Linked DNA regions of Homo sapiens: all the other regions are linked to region 1. The links are contacts of gene promoters, found by promoter capture Hi-C in human tissues and cell types (Jung and others, 2019). All regions are on one chromosome and are shown on one strand. Each heading gives the region's core, a stretch centred on a gene start or on the middle of the fragment in contact. The rest is flanking DNA. Distances are from core to core; before and after follow the strand shown. Region 1 holds the start of F10 (coagulation factor X). Region 2 overlaps DCUN1D2 (defective in cullin neddylation 1 domain containing 2). Region 3 overlaps DCUN1D2 (defective in cullin neddylation 1 domain containing 2). Region 4 overlaps ADPRHL1 (ADP-ribosylhydrolase like 1).

The links. The method cuts DNA at HindIII sites, captures the fragments that hold promoters and counts their contacts. A contact is called where the count stands out against the background at its distance.
Region 2: a contact is called between a fragment that was not itself captured here and the fragment with the promoter of F10 in region 1, in 2 of the 25 tissues and cell types used here (liver and mesenchymal stem cells).
Region 3: a contact is called between a fragment that was not itself captured here and the fragment with the promoter of F10 in region 1, in 2 of the 25 tissues and cell types used here (IMR-90 fibroblasts and dorsolateral prefrontal cortex).
Region 4: a contact is called between a fragment that was not itself captured here and the fragment with the promoter of F10 in region 1, in 2 of the 25 tissues and cell types used here (dorsolateral prefrontal cortex and lymphoblastoid cells).

What each region holds. Positions count from the first base shown.
Region 1 is chr13:113,121,016-113,124,752 of GRCh38, reverse strand. F10 (coagulation factor X) reads right to left here and starts at 1,954. Exons shown (of 8, transcript NM_000504.4): 1 at 1,828-1,954. The coding sequence starts at 1,897. The HindIII fragment of the contact is 14,274 bases long and covers 1-3,737 here.
Region 2 is chr13:113,481,369-113,485,105 of GRCh38, reverse strand. DCUN1D2 (defective in cullin neddylation 1 domain containing 2) reads left to right here. Exons shown (of 7, transcript NM_001014283.2): 2 at 1,050-1,266. Among named protein-coding and RNA genes, the nearest start is that of DCUN1D2, 7.5 kb to the left of the region's middle. The HindIII fragment of the contact is 3,664 bases long and covers 268-3,737 here.
Region 3 is chr13:113,458,455-113,462,191 of GRCh38, reverse strand. It overlaps DCUN1D2 (defective in cullin neddylation 1 domain containing 2), which reads left to right. Exons shown (of 7, transcript NM_001014283.2): 5 at 1,056-1,138; 6 at 2,784-2,880. Among named protein-coding and RNA genes, the nearest start is that of ADPRHL1, 6.8 kb to the right of the region's middle. The HindIII fragment of the contact is 3,864 bases long and covers 1-3,678 here.
Region 4 is chr13:113,397,432-113,401,168 of GRCh38, reverse strand. It overlaps ADPRHL1 (ADP-ribosylhydrolase like 1), which reads left to right. Exons shown (of 8, transcript NM_001394807.1): 8 at 1-1,558. Among named protein-coding and RNA genes, the nearest start is that of GRTP1, 35 kb to the right of the region's middle. RefSeq lists a silencer at 2,841-3,135. The HindIII fragment of the contact is 6,890 bases long and covers 1-3,737 here.

The sequences.
Region 1 (3,737 bases), core at 705-3,204:
TTGTAGCAGTACCAGCAAAGGAATGCTGAGGTCCCACCGCCCCAGAAGAACTTCCGTGACTGCCAGGACAGCTGTGCTCGTTTAAAGGCTAGACTGCAGATGCTGTGCGCATTCTGATTTTATTAAAATCAAAAGTGTGCACAGCAGGGTCCTGAGTGGGACCTTCTGGGACCTGTGTTCAGCCCCACCCACCCCACAGTGCAGCTGCCGAGGCCTCTGAGGCAGAGTAGGGGAGAGAGATGGCCTGGCCCTGGCTCTCCGGGGCTGGCCATGTCCACCCAGGGTCCAGGCCGGCCCCCGGGGACACCACAGGCCATGGTTATGAGCCAGGCCCGCATCACACAGCTAAGGGTGCCAATACCCTGTGGACCCAGAGGTCCGCGAGGTGGGCGCCTGCATTTCCCATTGGCAGGAAGGGAAGCTGGCGCTCCACCAGGACTCTGCATAACTCCCCTAGTTTCCTCCTGTGGGTCTGGGTGGGCTCCTGGCCTGTCTTCTCATCCCCACCCTCTGCTTCTTCCCAGGAAGAGGAGTCCTGCCAACTTCCATTCCCAATAAGCCAGAGCAGCTTCCAGAGTCCCGGGCCGGGCTTAGGGCCTCGGGAGCCCCGGGCCGGGCTTAGGGCCTCAGGATCCTAGAGCATTCCGGCTGCAGAATTTTCTACCAATTCGCGGAAGCATCTGTCTGTTTGCAGAGTAGCTTTGCTGTCGATGATGATGGCATGGGTCCTTCCAGGGCCTTGTTCCACCCACGCTGATCTCATCCCACCACAAGCATCACAGTGGGCTCCTGCAGGGGGCAGTGTGGCCTGAGGGGGAGGAAGAAGGCTGGGCGAGTTGGAGCCACACAGTACCCCATGAAGACGGGAGTCCCGTTCCGCGTGGGAGACAGGAAGATGTGGCTCAGGGGACAGAGGCTGGGGAGGGCAGGGGGTTGAGGGTGGGATGGAGAAGACCCCCGTGTGATGTGACTGGAGCTCCAAGTCACCAGGCGGAGGGGCCGTTTAGGTCAGTGATGCACTGAGGATCCACTCAGCCTTCCCAGGGGTCTCCCCTTTCCACCCCACGAGGGTCTCCCCCTGCTCCGTCTCTCCCTCACACATTCCCTTCCCAGGCCTGGGTCCCCTTGGTGCCCCTGCCTGTCCACTTTGTCCAGGATGCAAACAAGTCTAGGGTCCCTGTCTCTCGTGTCCCCACCAGAGGGGCCTCCTCTTCCTCCGCTGTCCCCAGGCTTGCCTGGCTTCTGTCCTGTCTGGGCCTCTGCTTTTGGACAGACCCGGGGGTCCTGGACAGCCCTGCTGCCCCCACCTGTCCAGCTGTGCATTAGGCAGCTCCTTCCCCGACGGAGCCAGTCCGAGAGTGGTGGCACTGGCTCGGCTCAGCCTCCTCCTCCCTGGGAGCTCCTCTGCTGTGCCCCTCGTCCTGTGCCTCCCTGTGGTGGCAGATGGCTAACTGTCCTGTCTCTGCCTGCCCCAACCCCTCCCTCTCTCTCTGTCTCCGTCTTTCTACCTCTGTCTCTGCCTCTTGGCCTCCCATCTCACTGTGTCTCCGTTTCTCCTTCCCTCTCCCTTTCTCTCTCTGACTCTGTCCTTGTGTTTTTGTCTCTGTGACCTCTGATCCGCCCGTCTGACTCTCAGCCCCAGGGAGCCACAGCTGGCCTTGAGGATGCCGTTGGCTGGAAAGGCCAAGCCCAGCCATCCGAGCCCAGCCTCTGGCAGCACTCAAGGCACCCACCGTCCAGGCTGCAGAGATGAGAGGGTTTCCCCAACTGCCGCCCCTCCCTGCTCCCTGGCGCTGCTTTTGGGTCTGAAGGGCGAGGGGCACTTACGACTTTCCCCGAGCAGCAGGAGGCCAGCCAGGGAGGCACTGAGCAGGACGAGGTGCAGTGGGCGCCCCATGGTGTGGCCGAGTACTGTGTCCCTGTCCTCACTGGGACAGGCTGCTGGAGCAAAGTCCACGCCCCAGCTGGGATGGCTGTTGTCTGGCTGCTTATCACTTGGCTTAGGCCTCCTGATTGGAGCCGAGACCTGCTGGCGAGGCAGGGGAGTGACCACGCTGGGAACACATCCACTCTGGCCCCACCTTCCCCAGGCAGAGCTGGGCGGCCAGAGAGGCCCCGCAGAACCTCATCCTCATCAGTCACCAGGGCCGCGGGTGTGGGGACTTTCTGTTCTAAGAATAAAAACATCATTTCGTGCTCATTTTGTAGTTTCCAGATGTTTACATTTAACTCTCAGTCCTCACATACAAATATCATTTTCCCCATCATTTTTCCAGAAGAGAAAACTAAGTTTAGAGAGCGCAGAAGCCTGAGCCGAGGCCGCTGGCAGTGAGCGTGGGATCTGAGCCCAGGACTTCTGCCCCAAGGCCCTGCTTGTTTCTGGGCGGGCCCTTCCGCTCACAGCCACTCTCTGGGTGGTATCAGGTGGTCTCATGTCACGGGGGGGGCTTGGCATCTGCACCATGGCCTCCCACAGGCCAGGCTGGCACCTGCCCCACCCACCCCCAAACCTTCTGTGCCCGCATGGCCCCAAAACGTACTTCTGTGGGGAGTGACCTTCCCGTGACCATCTGGAGGGACAGGCTGTGTCTGAAGCCCCTCCTGACCTGCCCACCACTGGCCACACTGTTCCGAGGCTGAGAGGGCTTCTGGGCTCGTTCTCCAGTGCAGAAACCTCCCATCACAAGGTCCTGAGTGTCTCTGCTCAATGGCTGTGGGAGTCACTGGGAGGTGCAGCCGGGCTTTTTGCCTCTGGGGTCTCTGGAATAAATGGTCTAAAGCTTGGCCAGTGTGGCGATCACTGCCTGCTATGCCGTAGTGGCCGGGGAGCAATGCCCCTAACACCCACAGCACTGGCCACTGCCTCATGGTGCATCTGCCTTGATGGGTCGCCCTGTCTCGCAGCCACCTGCACATGAGCCTGGTGTGCACACATTGTGCGTCATTGTGCCTGGCACACAGGAGGCACTCACTGAGCCCCACCCGACTGCACAAACTGATGATGCTGGATGCCAACGCCAGGCTGGCCTCCCACGGCGGGCACCACGCACAGCCTGGTCCTCTGAGAAGGGCCTTCCTGGTGGCACCAGATGTCTGACTCCTGCCTCTCCTGGTCTCCACCCTCTGACATCGCCTCTAGGCATGTTTGTATGGAGAGACCAATGCGGTGTGTGCACCAACAGCAGGATGCTCATGGCAGACACGCAGTCTTTGTCATCAATGCTGGGTGGCGATGCTGGCTTTGGTGGCCCAAGCCTGCCGCCTCATCCCACCCTGTCCCAGGCCCATGGCCAGTGGCCTCCCCGTATTCTATCTCGCCACTCACAGAAAGCTGGAGCTGAGCCGTGGCAGGTGGCACGTCCCATATGAAACATGTAGCCTTTGGGGGCGCCCAGGCCCTTCAGCGAAGCCTCTGGGGAGTCCCGGGCCCCCTCCTCCGGCAGCACCATGAGGTGGGCGCCTGCATTTCCCATTGGCAGGAAGGGAGGCTGGCGCTCCACCAGGACCCCGCATGACTCCCCTAGTTTCCTCCTGTGGGTCTGGGTGGGCTCCTGAACTGTCCTCTCATCCCCACCCTCCGCTTCTTCCCAGGAAGAGTCCTGCCAACTTCCACTCCCAAGAAGTCAGAGTGGCTTCCAGAACCCTGGGCTGGGCTTAGGCCCTCAGGAGCCCCGGGCATTCTGGTTGCAGAATTTTCTACCAATTCACTGAAGCATCTGTCTGCAGAGTGGCTTTGC
Region 2 (3,737 bases), core at 850-3,349, 360 kb before region 1:
TATTTATTTATTTATTTATTTATTTATTGAGATAGAGTCTCGCCCTGTCGCCCAGGCTGGAGTGCAGTGGCACGATCTCAGCTCGCTGCAATCTCCACCTCCCAGGTTCAAGTGATTCTCCTGCCTCAGCCTCCCAAGTAGCTGGGACTATAGGCGCATGCCACCACACCCAGCTAATTTTTGTATTTTTAGTAGAGATGGGGTTTCTCCATGTTGGCCAGGATGGTCTTGAACTCCTGACCTCAGGTGATCCGCCTCAGCCTCCCAAAGTGCTGGGATTACATCATCAAGTTACTTTAGATAAGTGGAAACTCAGCCCTCCTATATCTGAAAGTGTCAAGATGTTACTTTGTTTCATTATATACTATATATAGTACAGCTATTTGGCAGTTTTGTTATTTATTGCCTGCCCAGAGCCTCTGTCCTATTTTTTCATTTTATTTCTGTCTGGTATACAGAGGCATTCTTGTTATTAGTATTATTGTTTCCATTTAATCATAACAGGTTTTTTTGTGCCTGCTTGTGAAATTTTCATAAATTACTTTTAACGCTATTCTTAGTTATTTGTGTACATTTTCATCAATGTGATTCTGTGATTTAAAGTGGGAAAAAAAATCTCCAAACCGCACAGCCTCTTCCCATTCATTAAAGCCTGAACTTTATTGAAACCAAAGAAGACTGCAGCTGTGACCCCCGCTGGTGCCGTAAGGTCCTTGCCCTGTGTCCTCAGAGGCTAGATGTGCATTACAGAGTTACTGAGAGTTTTAGAGAAAAATGATAGTCACACTTCATGCAGAGTGAACTGGATAGAGATCAGAATGTATTTTGTATAAAATGTTAATTCTCATAATTTTTGAAGCTTAGACTGCCTGTTTGTTACAGTATAGATGCTGTTGTTTCCATTTTCAGAAGACTGTGCAGTCTTTGTAACTGATGAAGAGCAAGGCTTTGTCTCTAATTCTGCCCAGTTAAAGTGCAGGCGTTAGGCTAAAGCTGGGACAAACCTGGAGCGGCTTCATTGGCTTTCCTACTTCTTTTGCATCCCAAAGCATAAGCTTAAATCGTCTCAGAAGGACAAGGTCCGCCAGTTTATGGCGTGCACTCAGGCTGGCGAGAGAACTGCTATCTACTGCTTAACGCAGAATGAGTGGAGACTAGACGAGGCCACGGACAGCTTCTTCCAAAACCCAGACTCGCTCCACAGGGAGTCCATGCGGAACGCTGTGGACAAGAAGAAGCTGGAGCGGCTGTACGGCAGGTACAAAGGTAAGAGGAGACTGCAGCAAAGCCGGACGGATGTCGGCCTCCGCGAGCGGCCTGCGCGCTGCACTTCCAGGGTTCTGGTGCCGGGGCAGGTCTCCGGGCTGCCGTTGCTTCTCCTCCCCACGCTCAGCGCTCGGCGCTCAGCTGCAGAATCCACTTGCTTCTGTGTAAATGGGGCTGGGACTGTGATTGGTGGGGGTGGGGAGGGCGAGAAGAGTGGAGTCAGCGATGGGGCAGGGCCAGGCCCGTGCCCGCTTGTTCTGTGCGGTGAGTCTGACGCTGCACAGCCTGTCAGGGAAAAGCTGCTGCTGGGAGGCTTGGTGTCTTGGCGTGACTGTGTCTGTTAATACAGTATTTTTTTCAAGCACTTCTATTTAGGCTGAAATATTGATGATGAGAAGGTTAAGAACAACAGCAAATCATGAAGATGATCTGAAGTGAGGGTAAACCTTAGTGTTTTCCTTGCCCGGGTAGTGGCGTGTCAGCCCTGAAATAGCTTCAGTGATTAGAGAGGCTTTGGGAAAAGCTCGCAGCAAAGAAACTTTTTGTTGCAGATTGTGATTTTTATTGACATCAGTGCTTGGATCGGAGCTTCTTGTCAAAATGCTTCTTGTCAAAATGTGCCTTGAACTGAGACTGCCGTGATGAGCATACGCAGATCCACGCCCCTCTGCAGGCTTTAAATTTCATGTCCAATGCAGAGGGACAGGCAGCAGTCTAAGAGCTGACTTATTTTGCTTTTTCTTTCTAGCAGTTTTTAAGGCTAAGTTTTCTAAAACTTTAAAACAAAACCAAGCCCTGACTCTCATTTAAACAAGTGTTAGCCCAAATATACAATAATTTCCTTGGCTTTAAGTTCTTGTTTGTTTGTTTATTGTTGTCTGTGTGTGTGTGTGTTTATGTGACGGAGTCTTGCTCTGTCACCAGGCTGGAGTGCAGTGGTATGATCTCGGCTCACTGCATCCTCTGCCTCCCACATTCAAGCGATTCTCCTGCCTCAGCCTCCAAAGTAGCTGGGACTACAGGTGCATGCCACCACGCCCAGCTAATTTTTGTATTTTTAGTAGAGACGGGGTTTCACCATGTTGGCCAGGATGGTCTCAATCTCTTGACCTCATGATCCACCCGCCTCGGCCTCCCAAAGTGCTGGGATTACAGGCATGAGGCACCGCACCCAGCCAAGTTCTTGTTTATTTATTACTTTCGTTTTTTACTTTTTAAAATACTGTGTGTGTGCTTTAGTCTTTCTTTTTAGGTCTGAAAAGTGAGTTGAAAATTGCTTTAAAAAATCTTGGCTCAGAAACATAGTCAGTGGTAAAACAAACCAGGTTTGTACTTATTGTAGTTCCCAAAGAATGAAAATTGTTCTTAGTTAAGCTTTAGTCTACTTTAAAAATTTTTGGCTAAGTTAATTGTTGAGCTAATTTTGTAAGTCATATGCTGATTTTTATGCAGATTTTTAAAAGTTATTTAAATATATACAGCAGCCTTTGAAAAAATACTTGTGTATAAGTGGAAAATTGTGTCTTTGGGTGTTATTGAAGCTTCATCCCTTCATTATTATTTAACTTTATTCATGCAATTATACTCAGTTAAAGTAGAAACGTGGTACAATCACTTTAGGCTCTAAAAATAAACGTAGTTCTAAGACTGTTGACAAATATAACATTGGTTATGACATTAACATATACAAATGAACAAGTACTTGCAAAATTACTTGAAATGTTGAACACGGTTGTAATGAAATTTACTGAGATGGTTTATTAGCTCAGAGCATTGTAGATCAATATTTCTATTCATGAAGTATAGAATTAGGAGATGGAATTGAATAAGGTGATAAGTGGGGATTTTTTTTACAGAACCTCTGTCCCATAAACTATGCTGAGGTTGTTTTCTCCCTGATATAAGAGAATAGAGTTAGAAGGATGTTTATGGCTTTCTTCATTTTGTTACCAATTTTTCTTTTTTTTTTTTTTTGTCACCCAGGCTGGAGTGCAATGGCATGATCTTGGCTCACTGCAACCTCCACCTCCTGGGTTCAAGCGATTCTCCTGCCTCAGCCCCCCGAGTAGCTGGGACTATAGGCGTGAGCCACCCCGCCCAGTTAATTTTTGTATTTTTAGTAGAGACGGGGTTTCGCCATGTTGGCCAGGCTGGTCTTGAACTCCTGAGCTCAGGTGATCCACCCGCCTCGGCCTCCCAAAGTGCTGGGATTATAGGCGTGAGCCACCGTGCCCAGCCACCAATTTTTCTTTGGTAACTATATATATGTGGTAGTATACTACTTAAATGACCAAAGTTAAATTTTGTGTGAAGGGGAAGAAAAGTTTATCATACCTAATCTTTCTTTGAGCAGAGAAGCTACAGGTTTTCTACTTTTACCTTCTAAACCAACAATTTACCTACGCATTATGATAATATGATATAATCTGTCTGAAATTACTAGCTTTAGTGAAGTCTTGCTGGGATGCCTT
Region 3 (3,737 bases), core at 497-2,996, 340 kb before region 1:
CAACCTCCGCCTCCCAGGTTCAAGTGATTCTCCTGCCTCAGCCTCCCCAGTAGCTGGGACTACAGGCATGAGCCACCACGCCCAGCTAATTTTGTATTTTTAGTAGAGACGGGGTTTCTCCATGTTGGTCAGGCTGGTCTCAAACTCCTGACCTCAGGTGATCCACCCGCCTCAGCCTCCCAAAGTGCTGAGATTACAGGCGTGAGCCACCACGCCCGGCCGGTCACTTTAAAAAAATAGAATTCTGAACCCCTTTATATACTTGCTGTGTCAAGCATATAAAAAGAAATCGTTATCAAGCTTCTGGTGAGCAGAGAATAAATCAGTGTTTCACAAACTATGGATTGGAGACAGCCCTGAAACTCGGCATTCATATTCTATTAGACATCTTCAGTAGCAGAGATTTATATAGAAGTCGTGAAATAATCACCACCTTCCCGTGTGGGAAAAGAGGGCGTTGGCTTTGATTGATACGCAGTGTCCTGTGTAGATGCATCAGTGAGAACGCTTTCCCTGCTAGCTGCCGATTTGACTTGACACTTTAGGGACAAATTGGAGCCCTCATAAGGCCGCTGTAATTACTTGTGAAACAGATTCTGTCTTAGTTCATATAGCAACAAGGCAGGTCTATTTGGAGAACAGTGTGTCCCTTCCTTCCTAAACTGGTCCTTTGATTTGCAGTTCGACACTCAGGCCAGTGGCCTATTTTTAAAAACAAATGATACGCATTAATAGTATCCAGATCAGGTCAGGTTTAAAGAACACCCAATATGTGTGAAAAGGCAAGTCTCCAAAACTGATTAATTAGGGGGGAATTGTGTGCATATCCAAATAACTTAATATACAAATCCTTTTAAAAAGAGTTTCCCCAGATTTATAAAATTAGACTACGTACAGTTCTCAGGAGCACTTCCGTAGAGATTAAGCCTCATGACTCTTGGGTGAGATTGCCACATTTTATTAAGTAAATATTGACATGCTAAGAAGTGGTCGTTTTTTGTGCAGTAGAAAAAGAGAGTGAGATTTACTAACTGCTCTTTCTTTCTTTTTACCAGACTTAGAAATGGCTGTTGCGTATTGGAAATTAGTGTTATCTGGAAGGTTTAAATTTTTAGATCTCTGGAACACATTCTTAATGGTAAGTGTCCTCCTGCATCTCGCTGTGTGCCCACTGTGGAGGGAAGTCGGTAGGTATGAGGCTGCATGTAATCATCCACCTCAGGTCTCACACGTGGAGGTTTTCAGCAGATGAACATCCCACACAAAGATCCGCAGGTCCAGACAGGTTGCCACTTGGCTCTGTCACCTTGCCGGAGACTGCAGGGCTGAGCTGGGGCCACTCCGGGGCCTCCTCAGAACGTGGCTTCTTGGCAGTCACGGGAAGCTCCTCTCAGGCTGGGGTTCCTGGAGACTCTGCAACCCCAGCAGCCCCCGTGTTGTCTCCTCTGAGGACCTAGACGGTAATTCTGTCTTTCCACTGAGAACTCCGAATCCTCGACATGGTGCCAGCGCCACACTTCTGTGGACTGGTTTGGGCTCCGGAACTGCGGATTGTATGTGGCGGTGCCCAGCCTCTGTGTGTGTCTGTGGTCTGAAGCCATTTCTAAGTGTGTCTCACCATGCTCAGGAGGAAAAGAGGCCTTTGTGGACCCTCTGGAGAGACACTTTGCTGGTGCGGGGCAAGGCTGCGTCATGCCAGCCCGTCTTGCTGGCAGCAGGTGCAGCTGTGGGTTTTTGGAAGTGAGTGGCCACAAGCCCGGTAATGGCAGAGATGCCCAGACCTCTTGCTGTTCTGTCCATGAAAGTGAAAGAAGTGGTCTTCCACCGCCCAACCCACGGCCGGGCCAGGACCCGCACTGCCTCCCTTCACCTGACACCAGGTGACACAGACTTTGCCACTTAGAGTCCTGTGGCCTTGGGCACGTCACTTCCGCTTCCTTGCCTGGGAATGGTACCCAGAGAGTGTGGCAGGTGGAGGGCGGAGCTGTCTGTGGAAGGTGACGTCACTCAGTCCTGTGGGTTTGCCATGGAGAGACGTCTTTGCAGCTATGTGTTTCATTACATCATGTGCTGTATTACTTCTCTCGAAATATCCAGAGGTCAGTAATGCTGTGCCCACAGCCCCCTTACGCCTTACCTGGGGTCAAACCTAAGTCACAGATGTTTCCCAGAGAACCTCACGCTCTTGTGCGTGGAGAAGGGGATGAAGGCGCTCACAGTGTCATTGTAACGGCAGAATACTGGAAAAGCCAGTGACCATCCACAGGAGAACGGACTAAAAAATCAGAATATTGGTGCGATGGAGCACGGCTTTGGAGCCACGCAAAGGAACGCACATTCACACACGTCAGCCCGCATACGTTTCAGACATTATGCTGAGTGGGAAAAAAACAAGTTGCAGAAAACTATGTGTAATTTGATAGCAGTTAATGTTTTAAAATGTAAGACAAGCTTATGAGCTGTTCGTGAATATATATATACATGCAGCTAATGGGCAGGTAACGAGATTAAAATGCTGCCCTTCTATGTGACAAAACAGGAGTTTATAATTGTAATATTTAAAATGTTTTGTTCTTAAATAAATCTGCTTTCTATATTTGGACATTAGCGTTGTTGTAGCACTTAACATTTATACAGAACGCTATTACTTTTAACAATTTTATTGTACTTGTTCCTAATCAAATTAATGAACATTAATTGAAGATCGCTAGGCCACTAGAATATATGAGAGTTAAGCTCTGTATTTTAAACCTGGTGGGTTTTTTTTTTCTCTCATATATTAGGAACATCACAAAAGATCAATTCCAAGGGACACCTGGAACCTCCTGCTGGACTTTGGAAACATGATTGCGGATGATATGTCTAACTACGATGAAGAAGGTACCGGAAGTTGTGCTTCAGATGATTGACCGAAATGCTTACACCTGAGAACGTTAACTTCTCCTGCCTCTAGAGTGGTGACCCCGTCACTGAGATGGGCGTGGTCATAATACTACCCCCTTCCTTATTATTTTCTGTAAATCATACAAAAGAAAAATAGGGTTTTATATTTAGTGTAAATCAAGAAGACAGTCCTCTAAGCCAAAGCATTTCAGAATTGGATGTGAAGAGTTAGAGACCCCCATGGTGGAGCCATGGAGTTAGGTATTGGGAAACCACCACTCCCAGATTCTCAGTCCCGCATGATGCCTTAGGTCAGTTCCACACTGCACTCTTCAGGCTGACTCGGAGATTCCAGCTCCTGTCTTCTTGCATAAATATATCTCCACATACTTGTCTCCCCCCGTGTTTAGGACTCTGCGTTGGAGGGCCTTTGGAGCCTGCTGTGTGCTGGGCACGCTGCCACCTTAGAGAGGGATGGTCTCTGGGTGGAAGGCCTCCCCTCTAGGCTCCCACCCACTTTGCTTCCTCCCTGCCCCCTCGGCGGGCAGTGATCTGTTCTGGGCCCTGGCGCCGTGCCTTTAACGGGTGGTTTACGTGTCTGTCTGCCTGTTTTAGCTTCTGCTTCTCTTTGTGTCCTCCACACTTTGCACCGTCCCTAGATCAGGGGCACCCAGTAAATGCTTGTCAAATGAAAGAAGGGATCACTGAATCTCATTGACAGAAGCGCGGCTTCCAGGATTGAGGCAGCAGTGCAGGAGCTCAGAGGGCACTCAGGGCTGCCGGGGTGGGGAAGGGAGCAATGGGGTGGTCCCACTTGGGAAGAGCCGCAGGAGGGAGCACCCCCTGCTGGCAAG
Region 4 (3,737 bases), core at 555-3,054, 280 kb before region 1:
CTGGAGCTGGGGGAGCTCAGGGACCCCCAGGTCTGTGTGGCTGCCCCTGCCACTCCAGGCACAGCGGCACGGCCCTCACTCTTTACCTATTTGGAATTGGAGGCAATGAGTGGCAAGAACATGATGACAGACACGGGAGGTAAAAATATGTTCACTGGCTGTTCCCTTTATAAATAAGAAGTGGTGGGACTTGCGCTGCTATTTTTAAATAGACCAGAGAGTACACTGGAGAAGGCATTGAGTGGTTTTATTTTAAGTGGTGGAAAAAATGATGAGAATCTCCTCCAGATGACAGCTCCGGAAGTGTCGTGCCTGAACCCCTCTCACAGTCTGGCGGGCGCAGAGTCTGTGAGCGGCCAGGAGGCCACCTGCTCGACTGGCCCGTCCTCTCCATGTGCCAGATGCAGCCCAGCATGACACTGCCCTCAGCTCAAAAACAGCACAGCTACTCTGTGTGCAGGAAAAAACTGCCAGTGACTTCACCAGGATTTGAGAACGGTCCGTACGTTCACACTAAGCTGAGACAGCGCAGGTTAGAAGATAGCGCGGGGAAGTATTCACACTTCAGATACGACCATCACGGCCACATGGCTAAGGCCCACACCCTCCCGGGGTGAAATAACTACAGCAGAAGAATGGGGCGCTAACCACCTCCACGGGCATTTTAAATAAAACCCAAAGTTGTTTTGTTTTTTTAAAAAAAAAAAAAAAGAAAGAAAGAAAGTGGCCGGGCACGGTGGCTCATGCCTGTAATCCCAGCACTTTGGGAGGCCGAGGCAGACAGATCACGAGGTCAGGAGATCAAGACCATCCTGGCTAACACAGTGAAACCCTGTCTCTACTAAAAATACAAAAATTAGCCGGGCGTGGTGGTGGGTGCCTGTAGTCCCAGCTACTCGGGAGCCTGAGACAGGAGAATGGCGTGAACCCGGGAGGTGGAGCTTGCAGTGAGCCGAGATTGCGCCACTGCACTCCAGCCTGGGTGACAGAGCGAGACTCCGTCAAAAAAAAAAAAAAAAAGAAGAAAAGAAAAGAAAAGAAAACAGGATATTTATTTTAGCTTCTTAGTTAACATCATTAATTTTGTGTAGTTGAGCGACTCGTTGACTGCCTCCTCCCTGCAGTTTTTTACGGTGCCTCCGGCTGTCGACAGGCCCACTGTGAGCCGCAGGTCTGTGGGTGCAAGTGACAACAGCCGGGCGGGAGGCGGTGCACTCAGGCGGCAGGAAGGTCCCGAGACGGCGACGAGAATGTGGTCATGTTCAGGACACTCGCTCAGGGAGGGTCGTTGTCTGGGATTTTACACGCTCAGCACCACCTCCTTATTCTGTTCTCAGGGTATCTCTGCTGTTGGAGTTACGGTCTTTCGGTTGTGTATTAGGCTACAGCTATTTATTAAATTTGTTCTTGTTCATATTCTTCTTTGTATATAAACAACCCTAAAATGGGTTAGTCAGAAAAAATTACTAAATGTCATTTGTTGTATTCTCTCTGTATTTTTACTAACATCATTCAGCTGGAAATAATTTCAAAAAGAAATAAAATACCTTTCCCATTACAAATCTCTTCCTTGCATTGTTGAAGCAGCCGCATAAATGAAGTAGGACTCAGGCCTGGGGCGAGGGGCAGAGCCCCCATCGGGTGAATGTGGCCAGCCTGGAGCAGTGATCCTGGGCAGGAGGGAGGGTCTGGGGCAAGGCCCCAAGTGGGAGGAGAACTCCTTAGGATGTGCTTAGAGAGACAAGGCCATGCACTCCCCAGACCCTCTCTTGGTCCAGTCAAGACTGTGCCGGCCTCGGAGCAAGACCCAGGGAGCTGGACTTCGGCCACTGCACCTGGGCCGCGGGGGGCCAAAGGGCTGGGGTGTCCTCTGGGACACGGAGGGAGACTGGACAGAAGGGAGGGAAGGAGTATGGGTGCAACGGGCCCAGCAGGCCTGTGAGACACCCTCTGCCCTCCACTACTCTGTATGCAGGAGAACTTTGTAAGTGACTTTTCATGAGGATTTAACAACGGGTGGTTTAAGCTCACGCCAGACCTAGCTGGGAATGCCTGCATTCCAAACCCCTGCTGTGCCCGTGGGTGGCGCGGGTTCTTGGCATCTTGTGAGGAGGAAAGCTTGTTCCACTGAAACGAGCTGATGCCTCGTGTCTGAGAGCACTGGCCCGGCAGCCGAGGCTTTGGGATGGTGCAGGCACCTCTTGTCCTGAAAGAAAACCCCTGTCAATTAAGCTATGACACAGGCTTTCATTAGAACTTTTATTTTATTTTATTTCATTTATTTATTTTGAGACGGAGTCTCGCTCTGCCACCCAGGCTGGAGTGCAGTGGCGTGATCTCGGCTCACTGCAAGCTCTGCCTCCCGGGTTCACGCCACTGTCCTGCCTCAGCCTCCTCAGTAGCTGGGACTACAGGCGCCCGCCAAGACGCCCGGCTAATTTTTTGTATTTTTAGTAGAGACAGGGTTTCACCACGTTATCCAGGATGGTCTCGATCTCCTGACCTCGTGATCCGCCTGCCTCGGCCTCCCAAAGTGCTGGGATTACAGGCGTGAGCCTCTGCGACCGGCTAGAACTTTTAAAAGCACTTATTGAGGGCGTCTGTGAGACTGGTGTACATAGAAGTCTGATCAAACCCCATTCTTGGGATATTGTTATAAGCTTGGGGTAGACAAATGTTTCCCTGAACAGAAGAAAAAGCCCCAACCACAAAAGGAAGTGCCGGGACATTTGTCTGTTTGAGCGTCGGTGCATTTGCTGAATCTTTATGGCCGCCATGGATTTTTGACAGGAATGGATGTCACGTAGCCCCCAAAGCCCAGGACTGAGCAGCTGAGCAGTGCACGCCGTTTCTCTGACAGCGAGAGGACTGGCCTGGCTCAGGTCCACAACCCCAGGCGGTGTCTGGGAAGCCACTCGAAGGCACAGGAGCCTACTAGAAGCCCCATCTGTGCACACCCCAAACTCGTGAAAGTGCCGAGGCATCTTCTCCTAGAAGAACAAAGGAGGCCAAGCGGGGAGTGAAGGCAACAGTGTCTACAGTGGTCCGTTTCCAAGACAAAGTGCCTTGAATCGGCTTAAGTCAGCAAACTACAGAAGAAACAGGAGGTCCGAGGCCCCTGCCTGGATCGCCAGTGCCTGCTTGCCGGCCTCCCCTTCTCCCTCCCTTCCCCCCGGCCCTTAGGTGCTCTCACCTGAACTAAAGAAGTTTAGTCTAAGATAACAGTTTACTAGCCTGCAAAATAGCTGGCTTTGTCTGTTCTTATCAGCCTGCCCAGCTACTTAGGTCATAAGTCAAATACTTGAAGAGCCCCTGGGCTGACTGGGATTGCAATGCATTGTGGGCTGCAACAAAATGCAACAGGACACCCCTAAAAAAAACACCTACAGCCCCTGCCCAACAACCAATAGGTGACGTCCCAGAAGACTGTGACCCCAGAGTACTCAGCCTGTGAGGAACCCGGGGAGACACCTGTGCACTAGGGGATAAATTATTTGTTGAAACTGTGCTGGCTGTGGCTGCCCATCAGACACCCGATCTTGCAAGACCATCATCAACAGTCTCACTTTCAGCCAGGTGCAGTGGCTCATGCCTGTAATCCCAGCACTTTGGGAGGCTGAGGCAGGCAGATCACAAGGTCAGGAGTTCAAGACCAGCCTGACCAACATGGTGAAACCCCGTCTCTACTAAAAATAAAAAAATTAACTGAGTGTGGTGGTGTGCACCTGTAATCCCAG